7 separate regions of the Homo sapiens genome follow, and regions 1, 2, 3, 4, 5 and 6 are each linked to region 7. Evidence: promoter capture Hi-C in 16 types of primary human blood cells and fetal thymus (Javierre and others, 2016). All regions are on one chromosome and are shown on one strand. The core of a region is centred on a gene start or on the middle of the fragment in contact, and the rest is flanking DNA. Distances in the headings are between cores, read along the strand shown. Region 1 overlaps CEP70 (centrosomal protein 70). Region 2 overlaps BFSP2-AS1 (BFSP2 antisense RNA 1). Region 3 holds the start of LINC01391 (long intergenic non-protein coding RNA 1391). Region 4 holds the start of FAIM (Fas apoptotic inhibitory molecule). Region 5 overlaps PIK3CB (phosphatidylinositol-4,5-bisphosphate 3-kinase catalytic subunit beta). Region 6 has its middle 24 kb from the start of LINC01391. Region 7 holds the start of MSL2 (MSL complex subunit 2).

What was found. Contacts are between HindIII fragments. The CHiCAGO score rates a contact against its expected background, and 5 or more counts as called.
Region 1: a fragment that was not itself captured here is called in contact with the fragment with the promoter of MSL2 in region 7 in 2 of 17 cell types (activated CD4 T cells and fetal thymus); the score reaches 6.0 in activated CD4 T cells.
Region 2: a contact is called between a fragment that was not itself captured here and the fragment with the promoter of MSL2 in region 7, in 3 of 17 cell types (fetal thymus, non-activated CD4 T cells and naive CD8 T cells). The highest score is 8.4, in fetal thymus.
Region 3: a fragment that was not itself captured here is called in contact with the fragment with the promoter of MSL2 in region 7 in 1 of 17 cell types (activated CD4 T cells); the score reaches 7.8 in activated CD4 T cells.
Region 4: a contact is called between the fragment with the promoter of FAIM here and the fragment with the promoter of MSL2 in region 7, in 6 of 17 cell types (naive CD8 T cells, total CD8 T cells, total B cells and 3 more). The highest score is 6.5, in naive CD8 T cells.
Region 5: a contact is called between a fragment that was not itself captured here and the fragment with the promoter of MSL2 in region 7, in 2 of 17 cell types (total CD8 T cells and non-activated CD4 T cells). The highest score is 7.5, in total CD8 T cells.
Region 6: a fragment that was not itself captured here is called in contact with the fragment with the promoter of MSL2 in region 7 in 1 of 17 cell types (neutrophils); the score reaches 5.3 in neutrophils.

The regions. Positions count from the first base shown.
Region 1 is chr3:138,588,590-138,591,289 of GRCh38, reverse strand. The region is part of intron 2 of CEP70 (centrosomal protein 70); the gene reads left to right. Among named protein-coding and RNA genes, the nearest start is that of CEP70, 4.3 kb to the left of the region's middle. The HindIII fragment of the contact is 7,821 bases long and covers 1-2,700 here.
Region 2 is chr3:133,488,330-133,491,029 of GRCh38, reverse strand. BFSP2-AS1 (BFSP2 antisense RNA 1) reads left to right here. Exons shown (of 4, transcript NR_189064.1): 1 at 1-128. It also overlaps the pseudogene MAF1P1. Among named protein-coding and RNA genes, the nearest start is that of BFSP2-AS1, 1.4 kb to the left of the region's middle. RefSeq lists enhancers at 1,800-1,929, 1,950-1,999. The HindIII fragment of the contact is 969 bases long and covers 877-1,845 here.
Region 3 is chr3:138,942,385-138,945,084 of GRCh38, reverse strand. It overlaps FOXL2 (forkhead box L2), which reads left to right. Exons shown (of 1, transcript NM_023067.4): 1 at 1-861. LINC01391 (long intergenic non-protein coding RNA 1391) reads left to right here and starts at 1,065. Exons shown (of 3, transcript NR_121649.1): 1 at 1,065-1,119; 2 at 2,467-2,700. RefSeq lists an enhancer at 1-562. The HindIII fragment of the contact is 2,195 bases long and covers 353-2,547 here.
Region 4 is chr3:138,607,424-138,610,123 of GRCh38, reverse strand. It overlaps FAIM (Fas apoptotic inhibitory molecule), which reads right to left and starts at 1,353. Exons shown (of 6, transcript NM_001033031.2): 1 at 1,187-1,353. RefSeq lists an enhancer at 616-705 and a silencer at 806-1,265. The HindIII fragment of the contact is 4,797 bases long and covers 1-2,700 here.
Region 5 is chr3:138,778,739-138,781,438 of GRCh38, reverse strand. All of the region lies in intron 2 of PIK3CB (phosphatidylinositol-4,5-bisphosphate 3-kinase catalytic subunit beta), which reads left to right. It also overlaps the pseudogene GAPDHP39. Among named protein-coding and RNA genes, the nearest start is that of PIK3CB, 55 kb to the left of the region's middle. The HindIII fragment of the contact is 4,184 bases long and covers 1-2,700 here.
Region 6 is chr3:138,919,096-138,921,837 of GRCh38, reverse strand. No RefSeq gene overlaps it. Among named protein-coding and RNA genes, the nearest start is that of LINC01391, 24 kb to the left of the region's middle. The HindIII fragment of the contact is 2,539 bases long and covers 77-2,615 here.
Region 7 is chr3:136,195,068-136,197,767 of GRCh38, reverse strand. It overlaps MSL2 (MSL complex subunit 2), which reads left to right and starts at 1,433. Exons shown (of 2, transcript NM_018133.4): 1 at 1,433-2,700. The coding sequence starts at 2,655. RefSeq lists enhancers at 886-1,185, 1,356-1,405, 983-1,729, 2,356-2,425, 1,730-2,476 and 2 more and a silencer at 1,626-2,015. The HindIII fragment of the contact is 2,546 bases long and covers 353-2,700 here.

The sequences.
Region 1 (2,700 bases), core at 82-2,581, 2.4 Mb before region 7:
ATATACAGCTTATACACACAGCCTGAAGCTAATTTTATACATTTTTAATAGTTTTATGCATGAAATGAAGTTGTGACTGTGACCTGTCACATAAGGTCAGGTGTGGAATTTTCTACTTGTGGTGTCAAGTTGGTGCTCAAAAAGTTTTGGATTTTGGAGCATTTTGGATTTCAAATATTCATATTAGGAACGTTCAACCCGTACCAGCTTTATTTTGGTTAGGTTAGCATTTCCTTTACTTTTCTATTTTTTGTTATTTAACAAAATCTTTTTAGCGTAAAATGAAATTTTTGTTATAAATCACATACCAAATGTATAGCTTAATAAATTATTACAGGACCATACCATTCAGGTATGCCAGATCCCCTCCATTACCCTATCCCAGTCAAAACTCCTGTGTTCCCATTTAGTCACCATTCTTCTGGGTTTTATAGTTTTGTAGTAATCACTTCCCTGTTTTTTTTTTATTATTTATTTATGAGATAGAGTCTCATTCTGTTGTCCAGGCTGGAGTGCAGTGGCACGATCTCAGCTGTCTGCAACCTCTGTCTCCTGGGTTCAAGTGATTCTCCTGCCTCAGCCTCCTAAGTAGCTGGGATTATAGGCACACACCACCAGGATCGGCTATTTTTTTTTTTTTTTTAGTATTTTTAGTAGAAACGGGGTATCACCATGTTGGCCAAGCTGCACTGTGAGCCTGGCCTCCTAGTTTTTGATAGCTTCCTTGTTATATAATATATTGAACAATTCCTATCGCAGATATGAAATCAGCCATTTCTTTAAAATGCCCGGGTTTCATTTAGAGGGAAATAATATTTCAGTTACAGTCTGAATGCTAAAGATCCTGAGTTAGTCACTGTTTCAGGCATTTCAGTAGACAGAGCTAGGATACCTGTATCTGTCTATAGACACACATGTTAAAAGATACCTAATGTATTCTACTTCCAGTCTTCAGATTGAGATTACAGAGCTTTTACTTAACAACTTCTCTATCACAACTGTAACTCCTTTTTTCCATACTGAGAATCATGATTCTCAAGAATATAGGAGAAAATAGAATATTCCATATTTACTCATTATTCTGTATTATACATATGACAGTATCAGAACTATATTTCTGAAATCACCATCAATATGATTACTGAAAACATTAAACCTTTTTTTTTTGGCTTATGTTCTTCTCATTTTTTCTTCTCTCTCTGTTTTAACAGTTATGCTCTATCTGCATTGTCAGAGTATATAGCCATTTCATGTTCTGCTTTTTCCCTCTTAGCCTATTAGTTCTATTAATATATTTAATGTTTACCACCAGTGTTTATGCTGAGGTCTCTCTAGGCATTTTGGCTACCTGAAGCTAATACATTGTTAGATTCCTCGGGAAGTAATATTGTCTGAGTTCTTATATATTGATCAAAGTTTATTCTTTTTATACTTCAAAGTCAATTTTGCAGATATAAAGTCTTTGGCTCACACTTCTTTTCCGTGAATTTCTTAAATACATTACTCCTTTTTCTTCTGGAATAAAGTATTGGTATCAAAGTCAGATTATTATCTAATTTTTCTTCTTCTTATAAGTCATGTGGGTTTTTTTCTTGTAGATAACCAAATAATTTGTTTTCTTTTTTTCTTTTTGAGATACAGTCTTACTCTGTCACCCTGGCTGTAGTGCAGTGGTATGATCTTGGCTCACTGCAGCCTCCACCTCCTGGGTTCAAGCAGTCCTCCCACCTCAGCCTCCTGAGTAGCTAGGACTACAGGTGTATGCTGCCACACCCAGCTAATTTTTTTTTTTTTTTTTCTTGAGAGACAGGGTTTTGCCAAGTTGCCCAGGCTGGTCATGAACCCAGGCTCAAGTGATCCACCTGCCTCAGGCTTCCAAAGTGCTGAGATTACAGGCATGAGCCACTACGCCCAGCCAAATTTTTTCTTTTTCATTAAAGTCTGCTAATAATATTAGAATATATCACTGTGTTGGTTGTTTTGGGTCAGTATTCTCAGGTACTTCATATTTTCTTTCCATTTGTAGTTTCAAATCTTTTTTTAAATTTCAGGAAAACTTTATTTTTAAAACAGCTTTATTGATATATTTAATATACAATAAGCTGCACATATGTAGTATAAGTTTTGACTTACATATACACCTATGAAACCACCCCAATCAGGATTGTCAATATATCCATCATCCCCCCAAATTCCCTTGTTCTCGTTAGTAGTCTCTGTGTCTAGCCTCCAATTCTCTCAGCAACCACTGATCTGCTTTCTATCACCACAGTTGGTTTTCATTTTCTAGAGTTTTATATAAATGGAATGTTATAGTATGTACTATTTTATGGCTGGCTTTCAGCGTAATTATTTTGACATTTATCCATGTTGCACATATTCTTTTTTATTGCTGAGGGGTATTCCATCCAATGGGTATACCACAGTTTGTGTGTCTGTTCACCTGCTGCTGGACATTTGAGTTGTTTCCAGTTTCTGGCTATTATAGATAAAGCTCTTACGAACATTTGTGTACAGTCTTTGTGTGGACATAATGCTTTCATTTCTCTTGGGTAAATTCTAGGAATGGCATGACTGGGTCTTATGGTAAGTGCTTATTAACCTTTTAAGAAATAGCCAAAGTGATTTACAAAGTGGTTGTACTAGTTTAAATTCCCGTCGGCAGTATATGAGAGTTCTAGTTCCCTCACATCCTCGAAA
Region 2 (2,700 bases), core at 112-2,611, 2.7 Mb after region 7:
GTCCTTGCCACCTTGGTTCTTGCTCAGGCTGCTGGGGCTGAGGCCTGAGGTCTGGGATGGGGAGAGAGCCTTCAGTATGTGGGCCGCCCTCCTGTCAGAACAGTGTTTGTCGTCTCCTGCTATCTTACGTGAGTAGCTCTCAATCCTGCTGATAATGTGGGTATCTTTGCTCTCTACAGTTAGCTGTGAGTTGATGGCTTCAAAGCCCAGTTCTCCAATAGCTTCCTGTCTCAGGGAGGGAGCTCCATGCTTGAGAGGGGCCATTGCTGCCTGCCTGGTGGGGCTAAATCAGGCCTGGCTGGGTCATCGGCACCGGTGCATAGGCAGGGCAGGCTCCGCACAGTGTGGGCTCCTCAGCACCAGAGGGTGGCACCGTGGCATCCACCTGGGCCACACTGTATCTGGGGGAAGAAACTCCATGGCAATGTTTCATTATACCTGGCCCTGCTGGCTCATCCAGGTGGTCACTATGACACATCCTTACCACACTGCACATTGCCTGCTTTAGCCACCAACATGCCACCAACCACCACAGATCACCTTGGTCAGCCAGCAACCTCCACCTCCCCCACCAGTCAATGTCTATCAGTCAAAATTCCTAGAACTAAATAAGTATAAAAGAAACTTAACTACTTCAACTTAAAAATAATTTGCTTCTGTCTGCCTATGAAAATGTTAATATTTGTGAAATCTGAGTGAAGGGTATATGGCAATTCTTCAACTATTCTTTCAACTGCTCTGTAAGCCTGAAATTATGTTAAAATAAAAATTCAAAAACAAAAGCCAAAAACCTTGTACCCTTAAGGGTTACTTGAGTTAGTGGTTCACAGCAACAGATACTCAAATCTGGTTTGTGTTACTTCTGAAAATTAAGCTTCATATCTTTTTCTTCATGGCTCTTTCTGGTGTAAAGTACAACTTGAATCTCATGTTAGAAGGTCTATCCCAACAAAGCCCAGACCACTGGACTCTAGAGGCTTCACGCATGTGGCAGACTCCTGAATATTGTCAGGCTTTATCTCCCATTTTCTGGCATTGCAGGTACTTTACTAAGGCATTTAGGTGCTAGCTCTTTGGGGCTCTCCAGGTCCAATTAGCATGATAAAGATATGTAATGGATCAGCTTGGGCTTCTGGGTCCCTCCAGATTGCATTCTGACTAAGTGCAGGCAAGCCGACATAGCCCGGAGGCAGGACAGTAAAAGTATACTGCTGTCCCTGCCACAACAGGGCAGAAGAGGATTAAGGTGGGGGTGGGCAGGATAAAGCATTTGCCAGGTCAATAGTGGCCCAGGTGCCAGGGACTGTGTGGATTTGCTCCAGTAAAAATACCGTCTCTGCAATTCTGGTTGTGATTCACCTCACCACTGGATTAGTCCGTGATGATCTGTGGTCATTTTCTATGACCTACTTGATTTGTACACTGATCAAACAAGTGAGTTAATTGTGGATTTGGTAGGAATCACTACCTTGTATCTTTCAAGTCTTTGGTGGTGGCATTAAGCTCATGTGAGGAGCAGAAAAAAAGTTTGTGAGAAGGCTGGCACACTGTAGGAGCTTGATAAATGATAGCTATCATCATTGTTGTTGTCATGTGTTATTGTCTTAGCCAAGTCAGGGTCAAAATTTACATTATCTTTTTTCTTTTTGAAATATCATATTTCATTGCTCCTAAGAAGCATACTGTTGTGTACTTTAACATCTCTGAAGTCAGGATATGATAATAGTTGATGGTATGTTGTGATTGCTGTTGTTTCGATTAAAATTGTGTTCATTTGTAGAGGATTTTTCTTTGCTTCTGCCTGTCACTTGGGGCACAGGCTGAGTTACCAATGAGAGTAAAGCTTCAGGACACCTCATTTGCATGGCCCTTCCAAGGTCCTGAAAGGGTTCCACCTCACAGCTTCATGGGATCAAATTACATATTTTTTTTCTGAGACAGTCTCAATCTGTTGCCCAGGTTGGAGTGCAGTGTTGCTATCTCAGCTCACTGCAAACTCTGCCTCCCAAGTTGAAGTGATTCCCATGCTTCAGACTCCAGAGTAGCTGAGGCACGTGCCACCACACCCAGCTAATTTTCTTTGTATTTTTAGTAGAGAGATGCAGTTTTGCCATGTTGGCCAGGATGGTCTCAAATTCCTGGCCTCAAGTGATCTGCCTGTCTCAGCCTCCCAAAGCGCTGGGATCACAGATGTGAACCACCACACTCAGCCTCATCATAGGTTTTTATAAAATTTGCAAGAGTAAGATATTTTGTATTTCTTTTTTAAAAGAGGGCATCAAATTATATAAGCTTTGGGTTCTACCCTTGCCAAGGAACTCATAATAATGTGAAACTACAGGTGGTCCCTAACTTTACGATGTTTCAGCTTATGATTTTCCAACTTTGTGATAGTGTGAAAACAATATGCATTCAGTGTGCTTCTCAACTTACAACTGGATAAAGTTGACTTATGATATAGTCACCTTATGATGGTTTATCAGGACATAACATCATCATAAGTTGAGGTGCATTTGTACATTAAATTCTCTGAGGTTTTTTTGATGGCACAAGTAGTACCAGAAAACTGCATGAGAACCAACTTTTGATTCAAATTATACGGGCAGATTTTACTTCCTCCATCCATGGCAAAATTGAAACATGCAACTTCTCTTGCTGTCCTACTATGCATGTCCCTTTCTTTCTCTTTTTTCTGTATAT
Region 3 (2,700 bases), core at 201-2,700, 2.7 Mb before region 7:
GTGTGTTTGCTCCGCGAACCCTCTTGAAGCTGTTCAGAAGCCGCTTGCCGCGGGGCCCACTAGGCGGGGCGGGGGTTGGGACCCAGCGGGAGCCGGGGCAGCCTGGCTCCACGGCCTGTACTCGGTTTACACCGCGGGCGGGCGCGGAGGGAGGCTGCGTTTCCTCCGCTATCAGTCCCGTCGCTTCGGGCACCTCCGGGCCCCGGCGGCTGGCTAATGTTTTGTTTGAAAGATCGGTGGAACTTTTTAAGAGAGTATTTAAAAAAAAAAAAAGGAAAAAAAATTCACCGGGCAACCGGGGAAGTATTGTGGCCTTGGAGTTTGCTAAATCCAAATATGAAAATCAAAAGCTTTAGTATTCCTCATCTTCTCTTCTGGAAGATTTGCGTTAGAGTTTTTGTTGGGCCTTCAAAAAGCTGTGTTCAGAGTTAGGAGAATATATCCAATAAAAGATGGTTTCGTCTACCAATTGGGGAAGTTTCACCCTCTCCCTATCTGAAGAAAAAAATCAAAAACAAATGTCCCCGGATCTTTCGATGCAAGTCCTGGAGGCAGGGAGATCACTGCCTGCCTGGCCCACGCTGCTGGGACGGCTCGTCCTCCCTGCTTTTTGTTTTTCAAACCTCCTGCTTCTCCCACCTTGGGAAGGAGAAATGTGAAACCCGGCAGCGGCCGACCTAGGCGGTCTTGTGGCCCGGAGCCGGCCCGGCCCGAAAACCATAGACCTGGTTGTACTGTAGCTTGTTGTTTGGGGGACCAAATTTTCTAGAGAGAACTAGAGCACTTTTGTTGTGTTTTTTTGTTTTGTTTTTGTTTTTTGCCTTGTCGATTCCCGAATAAATTTTGTGTTCCTTCTTTTAACACGGACTTCTTTATTTCTGTCGCTCCTTAGTTCAGCAGCTAGTTAAAAGAGGAAGATTTTCAGCAAAATTTTATCTTTTTCAGAATGAGTTAAACAAAGATTGAGAGCAACCGGGGTGGCAGGCGTTTGTGGCTGTCGCTGCTGCTTTGTTTTCCTGGGATTGTTTGTTTTCTGTGTCATCACTGGCCCGTTGCGGCTGTTTAACGTCAGCAGAAAGACTTTTTCTGCCGTGGTTCGTTCACAAGGCGCGACTGTAGGTAGGACTTGGTTTATTTTTGTACCTATTCAAGTTTGTATTCTACCTCATACACAGTTGTACTAGGTGTATGGGCTGGCTGTGTTTTTATTATTGTTCTCAAACTTTTCGATTTTGAGTCAACTATAACAGCCAAGAGTTTGTTCCAAACATTAATAGATAAAATTCTGGTTGTGGAAATGCGCTGCAAACTGCTAACCTCTGTACAAATGTGAGAAGTGACTGCTTTATTATTTTTAATAGTCAGAATTCATTTACCTTGAGATATGGGTAGGAGATTTGGAGGTTTCAGTAAGGATTGAACATACTTCGCGGCTGCAGAAATTTAGTCTTTTTTCTTTCTCTCTCTTCCTTTACTGAGATCCCCAAATAACGAATTAAGATCCATGCTTCCGCGCAGGCACACAGGCGTTTGACCTGGTTGCAGTCTGGTTCTCCCAGGCGGATTAGGGGGTGGTCGGCTTTCACTCTTCTGATGGGATAGATGACTTCCGACTTCTGATAGGATAGATCCGCCGGTTCTTGCGGGCTGCTGCTCAGCTGAGACTAGACCCCGCACCCAGCCCTCACTGCCCCCCCCCCGTCTATCTCGGGGCCTGGCCAGCAATGTGGCGGCAGGTCCAGGCCGGCTGGTGGGCCAGGAGCGGTTTTGCGCCACGGGAATGAGCCTGCAGGCCTCTCACTTCAGCCCTCCAGTGGTCAGGCGGTAGGAACCTCAGGGTGGTATCCTGTTATGTATAGTTGGGCCCAAGTGGCTTCTGCTCAGAATGCCCCCCGCCCCCCACAGGCATCCTGCGAGAGGCTACAAGGCAGGAGACCAAGCCACGGGGATTCTCAGGGGGCATCACCTCAAGACTGGGACTGGAGCTTACCAGGAACCGGCAGGAGCAGGATGGAGAGGGAGGCTCAGCTGGAGCAGGAAGCCCTAGAGGCTGGTCAGGCCTGGTGTCTGGGTGCCTTTGGTGCCCGGCTGCTCCACTATCTGGCTAAGGGGAGTTGCAGAACAGAAAGCAGCCTGCTGTGTGCATGTCTGTTTGTGCTTTGTCTAGCGTGAAAATTTAGCCCATGGGCAAGTAATTGTGTAGTCTGTATCTGCTGCAAATGTGTGTGTACAGTGTCAGTTGTGTATTGGTGACAGGGTGGGAGGTGTGTGTGTCTGTCATTCGCCTGCAGAGTGGGCATATATTTTTGGCATTGTAATAATCATATGGCTAACACTTAGGAAGTGCTTACTGGGACCACAGTGTGTGTGGCATTCATACCTCATTGGTGATGTGTGCATTTGTGGGTGTGTATTCCTGGCTTGCTGAAAAATAAAGTAATATGGACAGAGCCTTTGCTTCATCAGGCAGAGGCTCCCTGTTCTGAAGCTGGCTGTCAGCACTCCCCCAACTGCCGTCTCAAGCAGAGAAAGCAAGGGAGGGAAGCTTCCAGGACCAAGCCCTGGTGGGCAGGTAGCAGCCCACCTCCAGTGAGACGGAGAAGTTGGCCGGGGCCAGCAATGAAGGACCAGCCTGTCTCCTCCCCGAGAACTGAAAGGCAAAAGGCACCCAAGGCTGGGAAGAGAGCAGCAGCCTCACCA
Region 4 (2,700 bases), core at 104-2,603, 2.4 Mb before region 7:
CATGGTTCCCTTTTCAGCAAAGGCCCCCAGGTAGGGCCAGCCAATAATGCAAGTCACACTCAAGTGTTGACATCTTCATCTCCGGGCCGGCCCCTTATGAAGTGAGGGGGGTCTCCAGTAAAATCACTCAGGAAGCTCCTCGAGCCAAGTATTCCCAAATGCTACTTACTGGAGGTACAAAAAGGAGAATAACTTTTCTGAGGGCCATTTCACAATCTATACCAGAAGCCTTGTGGTATAGACCGTGGATTCTATCTTGTTTTAGAACGAATCTTGTGCGATTCTTTCTACAGAAATGATCACGCTCAAAAACCCAGATACAACGATGCTCAATGAATTACTTTTTGCAATAACTAAAAACTGAAAACCACTTGTACGCTCACCATCAGGGAGAAACTACATTTAGTAAATCACAGTCCAAAGCCATGCCAAGAGTCAGGGATGGATGAGGTAGTCAACCTGACACACAGGAATGTACAGTCGAGAGAGAGAGAGAGAGAGAGAGAGAGTCGAGAGAGAGAGAGAGAGAGTCGAGAGAGAGAGAGTCGAGAGAGAGAGAGAGAGAGAGAGAGAGAGAGAGAGAGAGAGAGTTTCAGCACTTTATGATGCAGGTTCTGCAAAAACAAGCCCCGCTCATGTTACAAGGAAAAACCATCTGGAAGAATATACACCCTCATGTTAACGCAGCTTGTCTCTGGGGAGCAGCGGCACGGCTGCTTTGCTTGCTTCCTTGCTTTCTGTTCCACGTTTTCGACAGTGAGAAGTATTATCTTTAGAGGTCGCGAACAGGCCGGAGGAGGGTGCGGCAGGTCGCGGGGCAGGGCCTCGCTAGGCAGGGACGCCCCCGCACCGCCCCGGGCTGGCCCCGCGCCCCGCGCCCCGCCGCACCTCCACCTTTGCCGGCGGTGAGCGGGAGCCGCGTCCCGCCCCGAGGTCTGGGATCACCGGCGGGCCGGCTGGAAGCGTCCGGAACTCACCCAGCGTCTCACCCGCGCGGGTCTCACCGACCGCGCAAACACCGCCCGCCGCCGCCGCCCAGAGATGGCCGCCGCCGGCGCAGCAGGGCCGAGAGCGTGGGGACGCCGGGGGGCTGAGTGCAGGGGTTTCCAGGGTGCGGAGCGGGCGGGCCCGAGGCGTCCGGGCGGGCGCAGGCGCGACACCGACCCCACCCGGTCTGCTGCCTCACCTGTGCTCTGTGGGCCGCGGGAGGCTCTGGGGTAGGTTTCACCAAACAACCGGTTGGTTCCGACTCGGCTGCGTAGGCCGCGTGGCCTTGCTCCCCTGGCCGAGAAACAGGCGCAGCCGGCGCGGAGGTTGAAAGCTCTGCAGGCGCGAGTACCAAACGCGCCGACTGTTTGTCGCGCCTCTCAGGTCCCCTGGGGCGACCAGCGCAGGAGGCCACCCCTCCCGCCGCCACGGACCCAACCCTGGTCCTCTGCCTTAGCCGAAGGCCGCACCCTCCGCGCATAGGCCTTCCTCAGCCCCAACCCAGGACATCACCATGTCCCGCAGTGCGTCCAGTCTTCCTGCCAGCAAGTGTGGGTAGGAGCCGGCCGCTGGCCCCGCTCTGGGCTAGACGGTGGGGACATACTGGCGGGCAAAAACAGCCCTGTGCCTGCTCTGCAGCTATGGGGAAGGAATATCTGTTCATGGCAGCAATAGCATTCGCTCCTTAAAACCTCTTTATGAGTCTCATTCCTTTTTTAAAGACCCAAACTACTTAAGGTGGGCATGAAGCCCCCATGTGTGATCTAGCCTCTGCCTGCTTGGCTTCATTTAGGTCCTTAAAGGATGCAGGTTTCTTCTCGCCCAGGGCCTCTGCAAATGCTCTTCTCTCTGCCTGGACACTCCTCACCTCTTCCCTATTGTGAGAGTTCTTCATATATCATTTCTTAGATTACACTATCCTGGCCCATAAGACTTGCAGCATTGCTGGGTGTGGTGGCTCATACCTGTAATCACGGCATTTTGGGAGGCAGAGTGGCGGATCTCTTGAGTCCAGGAGTTCAAGACCAGCCTGGGCAACATGGTAAAAAAAAAAAAAAAGAGAGAGAGAGAATGAGAAAGAAGAAAAGAAAATAATTAGCGGCTCAGGCCTGTAATCCTAGCTACTTGGGACGCTGAGGTGGGAGAATTGCTTGGGCCCTGAAGGGAGGTAGAGGCTGCAGAGAGCTGTGATTGCACCACTACACTCCAGCCTGGGCAACAGAGCGAGACCCTGTTTCATTAAAAAAAACACACACAAAAAGAAACAGCCGGGCTCAGTGGCTCACGCCTGTAATCCCAGCACTTTGGGATGCTGAGGCAGGCATGGCAAAACCCCGTCACTACTGAAAATATAAAACTTAGAGGGGCGTGGTGGTGCATGCCTGTAGTCCCAACTACTTGGGAGGCTGAGGCAGGAGAATCGCTTCAACCTGGGAGGTGGAGGTTGGAGTGAGCTGAGATTGAGCCACTGCACTCCAGCCTGGGCGAAGAGCAAGACTCTGTCTCAAAAAAAAAAAAAAAAAAAAACAGCCGGGCACAGTGGCTTACACCTGTAATCCCAGCACTCTGGGAGGCCAGGTGCGGATTGCCTGAGGTCAGAAGTTTGAGACCAGCCTGGCCAACGTGGTGAAACCCTAGCTCTACTAAAAATACAAAAATTAGCCGGGCGTGGTGGCATGCGTCTGTAATCCCAGCTACTCAGGAGGCTGAGGC
Region 5 (2,700 bases), core at 78-2,577, 2.6 Mb before region 7:
TCTCACTATGTTGTCCAGGCTGGCTTCAAACTCCTGGGCTCAAGCCGCCCTCCTACCTCCATCTCCTAAAGTGCTAAGATTACAGCTATGAGCCACCATGCCTAGCCAGAAGTTTCATTTTCGTTTTTTGTTGTTTTTTTTTTTTTTGAGATAAGATCTCAGTCTGTCACCCAGGCTAGAGTGCAGTGCCAAGATCTTGGCTTACTATGGCCTCAACCTACTGGGCTCGAGCAATTCTCTCACCTCAACATCCTGAGTAGCTGGGGCTGCAGGTGAGCACCACCATGCCTGGCTAATTTTGTTTATTTTTTTGTAGAGATGAGGTCACACTGTGTTGCTTAGGTTGGCCTTGAGCTCCTGGGCTGAAGCGATTCTCCTGCCTTGGCCTCCCAGAGTGCTGGGATTACAGGCACGAGCCCAGAAGTTTCATTTTTATGTAAAGACTTAATTTTTAGCTGGAGCATTGTGGGTCATGCTTGTAACATCAGCACTTTGGGAAGCTGAGGCGGGAGGATTGCTTGAGGCCAGGAATTTTAGATCAGGCTGGGCAACATAGCGATACCCTGTCTCTACAAAAAAACAAAACAAAAAAACCCCACAAAATTAGTCAGGTGAAGTGGTGTATGCTTGTAGTCTCAGCTACTTAGGAGGCTGAGACAGGAGGATGGCTTGATCCCAGGAGGTAGAGGCTATAGTGAGCTAAGATGGCGCCACTGTATTCCAGCCTGCATGACAGTGAGAGACACTCAGAAAAAAGTCTCAGAGAAAAAAAGAAAAAAGACATAATTTTAAAAACATTTAGCCCACACTGCTTTCTTTTTGGAAATGATAGTAACATTCACAACTAAAGTAAGTTAATTATAGTTTAAGGGCTGGGCACAGTGGCTCACACCTGTAATCCTAGCACTTTGGGAGGCCAAGGTGGGCAGATCACGAGGTCAAGAGATCGAAACCATTGTGGCCAAAATGGTGAAACCCCATCTGTACTAAAAATACAAAAATTAGCTGGGCATGGTGGTACACACCTGTAATCCCAGCTACTTGGGAGGCTGAGGCAGGAGAATCACTTGAACCCTGGAGGCGGAGGTTGCAGTGAGCCGAGATTGCACCACTGCACTCCAGCCTGGCAACAGAGCAAGACGCCGTCTCAAAAAAACAAAAAAAACAAAAAAACAAAAGTTAGTTTTCTGGTGGGCTCACACATGTAATCCTAACACTTTGGAAGCCAAGGTGGGTGGATCACTTGAGGTCGGGAGTTCGAGACCAGTCTGGCCAACATTAGCAAAACTCTGTCTCTACTAAAAATACCAAAAATTAGCCGGGTGTGGTGATGTGTGCCTGTAATCTCAGCTACTTGGAAGGCTGAGGCAGGAGAATTGTTTGAACCTGGGAGGTAGAAGTTGCAGTGAGCTGAGGTCTCGCCACTGCACTCCAGCCTGGGCAACAGAGCGAGACTCTGTCTCAAAAGAAAAAAAAAAGTTCTCAGTGCCATTTAAATTTCAGTAGAACTTGGACCTGCATAATTCTAATTTTAGAGATTAACTTGTTTGCTGATATACTAAAGTTATCTGTATATTAGAAGAAAATATTTCTCATAAGAAATGCCCTTGGGCCAGGCATGGTGGCTCACACCTGTAATCCTAGCACTTTGGGAGGCCGAAGCAGGAGGATTGCTTGAGCTAGGGTTTCAAGACAGCCTGGGCAACAAAGCAAGACACTGTCTCTATTAAAAAAAAAAAAAATTTGGCCAGGTGCAGCGATTTCATGCTTGTAATCCCAGCCCTTTGGGAGGCTAAGGCAGATGGATCACTTGAGTTCAGGAGTTCGAGACCAGCCTGGGCAACATGGCAAAACCCCACGTCTACCAAAAATACAAAAAATTAGCCAGGCATGGTGGCATGCACCTGTGGTCCCAACTACTCGGGAGGCTTGATGTGGGAGGATTGCTTGAGCCCAGGAGGTAGATGTTGCAGTGAGCCAAGATCGTGCCACTGTACTCCATCCTGGGTGACAGAGTGACAGCCTGTCTCAAAAAAAAAAAAAAAAAAAAGAAGGCCGGGCGTGGTGGCTCACGCCTGTAATCCCAGCATTTTGGGAGGCTGAGGTGGGCAGATCATGAGGTCAGGAGATCAAGACCATCCTGGCTAACACGGTGAAACCCTGTCTCTACTAAAAATACAAAAAAATTAGCCGGGCATGGTGGTGGGTACCTGTAGTCTCAGCTACTCGGGAAGCTGAGGCAGGAGAATGGCGTGCACCCAGGAGGCAGAGCTTGCAGTATGCCGAGATCATGCCACTGTACTTCAGCCTGGGCGACAGAGCGAGACTCCGTCTCAAAAAAAAAAAAAAAAAGAAATGACATAGAGTAAGATATATATTTGGAAAATGTGTGTGTTGCTATTTTTTTTTTTGGCAGTAGAGGGGTGCTGAATACAGAGGACTTTATTGATGGTGCACTACAAAGTGGAGCTTTCTAGGCCTATCCCATTTTTCAGGGGGTCTGGCATGGAAACCGTGTCTGGGAAGGGAGATTCTCAGTGTGATGGCGGGGGACTGAGTGGGGCAGGACTGCACAGCAGCTGAGGGCCTCTCTCTTACTTACATGGTCTCACTGGGGCTGGTGGTCCAGGAGGCCATGTGCACCATAAGGTCTACCACCCTGTTGCTGTAGCCAAATTCATTGTCATACCAGGAAATGAG
Region 6 (2,742 bases), core at 97-2,596, 2.7 Mb before region 7:
ACTCTGGAATTCAATAGTGAGAGCTCATCACTGTCATTTCCTTGGGATAATGCCTATTGCCCTGACCCATAAAGCTTCAGTCTTACTTATTGCCCCAAACCAGCCCTAGCCACTACTGAGTTAGATGGTAACAACAGTAGCAATCATTTATTGAGCATTGTATTCATCAGCATTCTCCAAAGAAACAGAAACAATAGGAGTTGGAGAAGGGCTTATTTTAAGGAATTAACTCCTGCGATTGCAGGGACTGGTAAATCCAAAATCTTATTTTTTTCCTTCCGACAAGATGGCCAAAATCCAAAACCTATAAGGCATGCGAACAAACAGGAAACTCCGGCAAGGGCCCACACTGCAATCCTGAGTCCAAAGGCAGTCTGGAAGCAAAACTCCTACCTCTTCAGGGACATCAGTCTTTTCTATTAAGGAGGGTAATCTGCTTTACTCAAAGTCTACTGATTTAAGGCCAGGCACAGTGGCTCACCCCTGTAATCCCAGCACTTTGGGAAGCTGAGGAGGGGCATCAATTGAGGTCAGGATTTCAAGACCAGCCTGGGCAACATGGCGAAACTCCATCTCTCCTGAAAATACAAAAAAAAAAAAAAAAAAAAAAAAAATTAGCTGGGTGTGGTGGTGCGTGCCTGTGATCCCAGCTACTCGGGAGGGTGAGGCAGGAGAATTGCTTGAACCCGGAAGCTGGTGGGTGAGCCGAGATTGCTCCACTGCACTCCAGCCTGGGCAACAGAGTGAGATTCTGTCCCGAAAAATAAAAATAAAAAATAAAATTAAAAAATTAAAATAAAAAATAAAATCTACTGATTTAAGTGTTAATCATAGCTTTAAAAAAATACCAGCCAGGTACAGTAGCTCACGCCTGTAATCCCAGCACTTTGGGAGGCTGAGGCGGGTGGATCACCTGAGGTCAGGAGTTCAAGACCAGCCTGGCCAACATGACAAAACCCCGTCTCCACTAAAAATACAAAAATTAAGGTCGGGCGCGGTGGCTCATGCCTGTAATCCCGGCACTTTGGGAGGCGCAGGCGGGCGGATCACAAGGTCAGGAGATCGAGACCATCCTGGCTAACACAGTGAAACCCCGCCTCTACTGAAAATACAAAAAATTAGCCAGGCGTGGTGGCGAGCGCCTATAGTCCCAGCTACTCGGGAGGCTGAGGCAGGAGAATGGCGTAAGAAAACCCGGGAGGCGGAGGTTGTAGTGAGCCTAGATCGTGCCACTGCACTCCAGCCTGAGCGAGACTCCGTCTCAAAAAAAAAAAAAAAGAAAATTAACAGGGCATGGTGGCGGGAGCCTGTAATCCCAGCTACTGGGGAGCCTGAGGCAGGAGAATCACTTGAACCTGGGAGGCGGAGGTTGCAGTGAGCTGAGATCGCGCCATTGCACTCCAGCCTGGGCAACAAGAGCAAAACTCCATCTCCAAAAAAAAAAAAAAAAAAAAAAAAAAAAACCTTCACAGTAACATTTAGGCTACTTGTTTGACCAAAAATCTGGATACCATAGCTTATCCTAATTGACACATGAAACCATCACAAGCATTCCTCTGTGCCAGGCATTCAGATCATCTCAACAGCATTTTGAGACAGCCGTCATTATCCCCATCTTACAGAAGATAAAACCAAGGGCTTAAGTCCAAGTCCACGGGAAGTTGCGGACTATATCTGGAATTCCAGTCTCCCCTCCTTCCTTGTCCATGACTTCCCCCATCTCACCACTGGCTCTCACTCGGTTGCAAGAGCCCAAAAAGTGTGTCTAGGCCACAGGTTCTCAGCCACTGACGCACATTACAATCACTGAGAAAAACTCATCACTGAGTTTTTCTCAGAGATGAAGCAAACCAACAAACAAAAACCAATGTTCAGACCCTACCCCCAGAGAGTCTGATTGAGCTGGTCAGAGGTGGGCCCCTGAGCATCAGTATTTTAAGCTCTCCCAGGTGCTTCTAATGTGCAGCAAGGCTGAGAACCATGGTTATAGAAGGTGGGACAATGCAAAGCATGGGTCCCTCATCTCTTTGGAGTAAAGATTGCCCAGCAGAAAATAACCACAACCTAAATGAAATCAAGTAGCTATAAAATAGCCTGTGGGAAAAACTAGCAAATATATTTCCTTTCTCAGCATGAAATTGGCCATTTCCCCTCTCATTTTTCAAGCAGTGTACAGTGAGTATTTCTTTCATTATTTGGAGATACAAAAGAGTGAAACTGAGTTTAATTCATGTGGGCAACAGGCATTTGGTGAGCACTTGCTGAGTGTTGGGCAGCCAGCAGTCAGATCTAATGTGGTTCCTGTCTTTAGCCAGCAAGCCACTGAGGGGGGCAGTAAAGCCCATGAAACAACGTGGGAAGTGCAACGACAGAAACTTGTCCCAAAGGTGCCAGAGCCCAGAGATGGCGACCAGCAACAGGCTGGGCAGGTGAAACACTGGGTTTGACACTGTGAAGCCTGTATTTTGAGAGACTCACAACCACAATGAATATCCCTCCCTTTGTTGTCGAGGCCTTGAGTACTCGAGGCAGCAACCCAACTGTGAAGGGAACCAGCCAGGTCTACCAGCAGATCCTTACCTATTCTACCAGTCCTTGGTGAAATGAGAGAAGCTTACATTTAGAAGCTCTTGGTATTAAAATATCCCTTCTTTTCTGAATTGATAATAGAATTTGGCTTTGCTAATAATGTCCTGATGTGCCAAATCAACAATTGACAAGTCTGTGTGGTTTGCCCAATAC
Region 7 (2,700 bases), core at 184-2,683:
ATCTTAACTATTCCTACTCACCTCAAGTGGCAGCTTGTAACTAACACGTACCACATTTACATGTTCCATATACGTGCCTGTGTACATATGTAACATGTGCCACAATAGATTTACACGCATCATAATTTTCACTTTGCAAACGTATAGAGTACCTACTGTGCATGAAAAATTATGCTGAGGAGCTTTGGTGTGTACAGAGATAAGAAATGCTTCCTATGGCCTGTTACTATTTGTGCTACTCAAAAAAAGGTTTTGTACTTTGAGATGGGAGGGAAGTCATCTACTAAGTCAGGCTTTTGTTTATTTATATCCCAGTGCCCTTGATCTCCTGCAAAAACAAAAGGCAAAAGCTTGTTTTAAAAAACAAAACATTTGCAAGGATTTGGGTTTGTTCTAGAGCAAGATCACGCATTCTTCAAGACATCTGTTCACACAGAAGAGCTAGGTCTTTTAAAAAAGCTAGGTCTTTCAAAAAAAAAAAAAAGGAGTTCGTTTTGTTTTTAAAACAGGACTCTGTTCCGGTGAGAGCTCGGTGAAGTCCTGATCGGCACCCATGAAGGTGAGGCCGCACGAGTCCAAGGGCCAGAGGCCGTGGGAACAGCGCGGGTCCGACGGGTAGGAGGGGGCAGTGGGTTCGAGCCTCCACGCTTACATACAGCCTGCCAGGGCCTTAGAGCCCTCTGACTGCGAACCACCGCAGAGAGGTGCGGAACGCGGCCCCGACCCGGCAAAAGCCGTCCGCACGCCTGCTGGGCGCGCAGCCACGTTGACTACTGCAGCCTTCCCGGCTCGGCGAGAGCCTGCCAGCCAGCCGAGGCTGCGCCCTTTCCGCGGTCGGGATGAGCGGTTCCAGGAGAAAGGCCGCGAGGGCGGGGCTTGGGGCCTGGCGCGGCTATTTCCTCACACCGCGGTCAGTCAGGACGAGAGGCCGCGTTCAGGCCAGTGCAGAGCGCCACATGGCGCTACCAAGTCGGGCCCCGGCGTTGGCGGGCACAGAAGCAGTGTAATGCGGGAAGCCTGCAGCCCACACTGGGGAAGGATGTGCCAGCTAACGAATGTTTCACCACAGCCCACATGCCTGGGAGAGGGAATTTGAGAGCACGTGGGGGAGGGGCGAAGAGAGCTGTCGGCTCGCAGAGAGCATGCTCCATTCTGAGAGTCGAAGTGGAGAGCCAGGCATGCGCAGTGAGCCCAGGGTGGGTTGGCAGCGGTGAGGGACTGGCGCGAGCAGGCTGATGTGTTTATCCGGTTTTCTGGGTGGGCGGTCAAAGCGCACGCGGAAGGGCGAAAGGCGGCGGAGCTAGGTAGCAGCTTGCGCATGCGTGGAGTGAGCCGGTAGCTCTGGGAGGCTGTGGAGGGGGTTGTTAGAGGAGAAGCAAGGGAAAAGGGAAGCGAAGGGAGAGGAAAGGGGGGAGGGGTGAGAGTGTGCTCTGCGCATGCGTGCGAGCGCTAGCGACGACGGCGGCGGGGGAGTCTCGGGGATGACAGTGGCTTTGCCCGTTGGGGTAACGGTCGTCGTCGCCGCCAGCAGAGGCCTGAGGCGCCACACAGCCCGCGGGATCCATTAAGGCCGCAGCAGCCCGGGCCCTACCGAGCTGGAGTGGCGCGTGGAGTCGGGGTGAGGGCGGCGAGGCACGGGGGAGGGGCCTGCGGCGGGGCCTTGCTGTGTGCGCTGGGCGGCGGCGGGGCCTGGCGGTGTGAGCGCTTGCCTTCCGCGGCCGGGGAGTGCTGAGGGCGGCGGCGGCCGTCGTGCTCGGCGGAGGAGTCGTCTGTGTGTGTGGCGCCGAAAAAATGGCCGGGCAGTGAGGGGGCGGCGCTTGAGTCTGGTGACCCCGGAGTGTGCGACTGAGGCGCGAGGGGCGCCGCCGCGGCCCGGCCGGGCTTGCCCCCCGCCCCCTCCCGCCCGCCGGCGGCGGCCCGCGCACTTCCTCCCCGGCCTTCCCCTCCGGGTTGAGGACTCCCGCCCGCCTCGCCACCTCGGGGAACTGCGGGCTGCAACCCACGGGGCGGAGAGCCAGGGCGCAGTCTGGGCCCCGCGTCCGATATGGAGAGCGCGGCGGCGGCGTCCGCCAGCCGCAACATCAACCTTCGTCGCCGCCGCGGCGTCTTGCACTAGATCCGGGAAGCCGCTGCCCGACCGTCGTCCTTGCCGTCGCCGCCGCCTCCGCGCCCTGTACTGGGATGGAGTAAGAGGCCCTGCAGCCCGGGAGAAGCGTGCCGCGCCTCAGACGGGGCCGGGGCCTGCTCCCGCGCCTGCCAGCTCGACTTGAGGAGGCGCCTCCGTGTCCGGAGATGGAGCTCGAGTGCAGGCCGCCTGCCGAGCCGCGGGGCTAGACTGAGCTCCGAGTCCCGCCCCGAGCGCCCAAGCCGCCGCGTTCTGCGCTCTGTGGTCGCTCCGGACGAACTCGAACGCTGGTTTCTCTCTCATATTTTTGGTCTGGAAGTCTCAGGGACGGAGGGGCGCCAAGGCCCCATGTGTGGGAGGATTGTTTCAGCTCCACAAACTTGCACGGATTTTGGTTACTTGTTTGGCCAATGGTTCGGCTCTGATTTCTTCCGAATTGTTGCAAATTCGCCATCGTTCCCTGGCTGCTTACTAAGTTGGATCCGGAATTTCTTTTCAACCGGGAGCCATTGGTGTCGAAGTGTCTGCAATGAACCCCGTGAATGCTACTGCTCTCTACATTTCCGCGAGCCGCC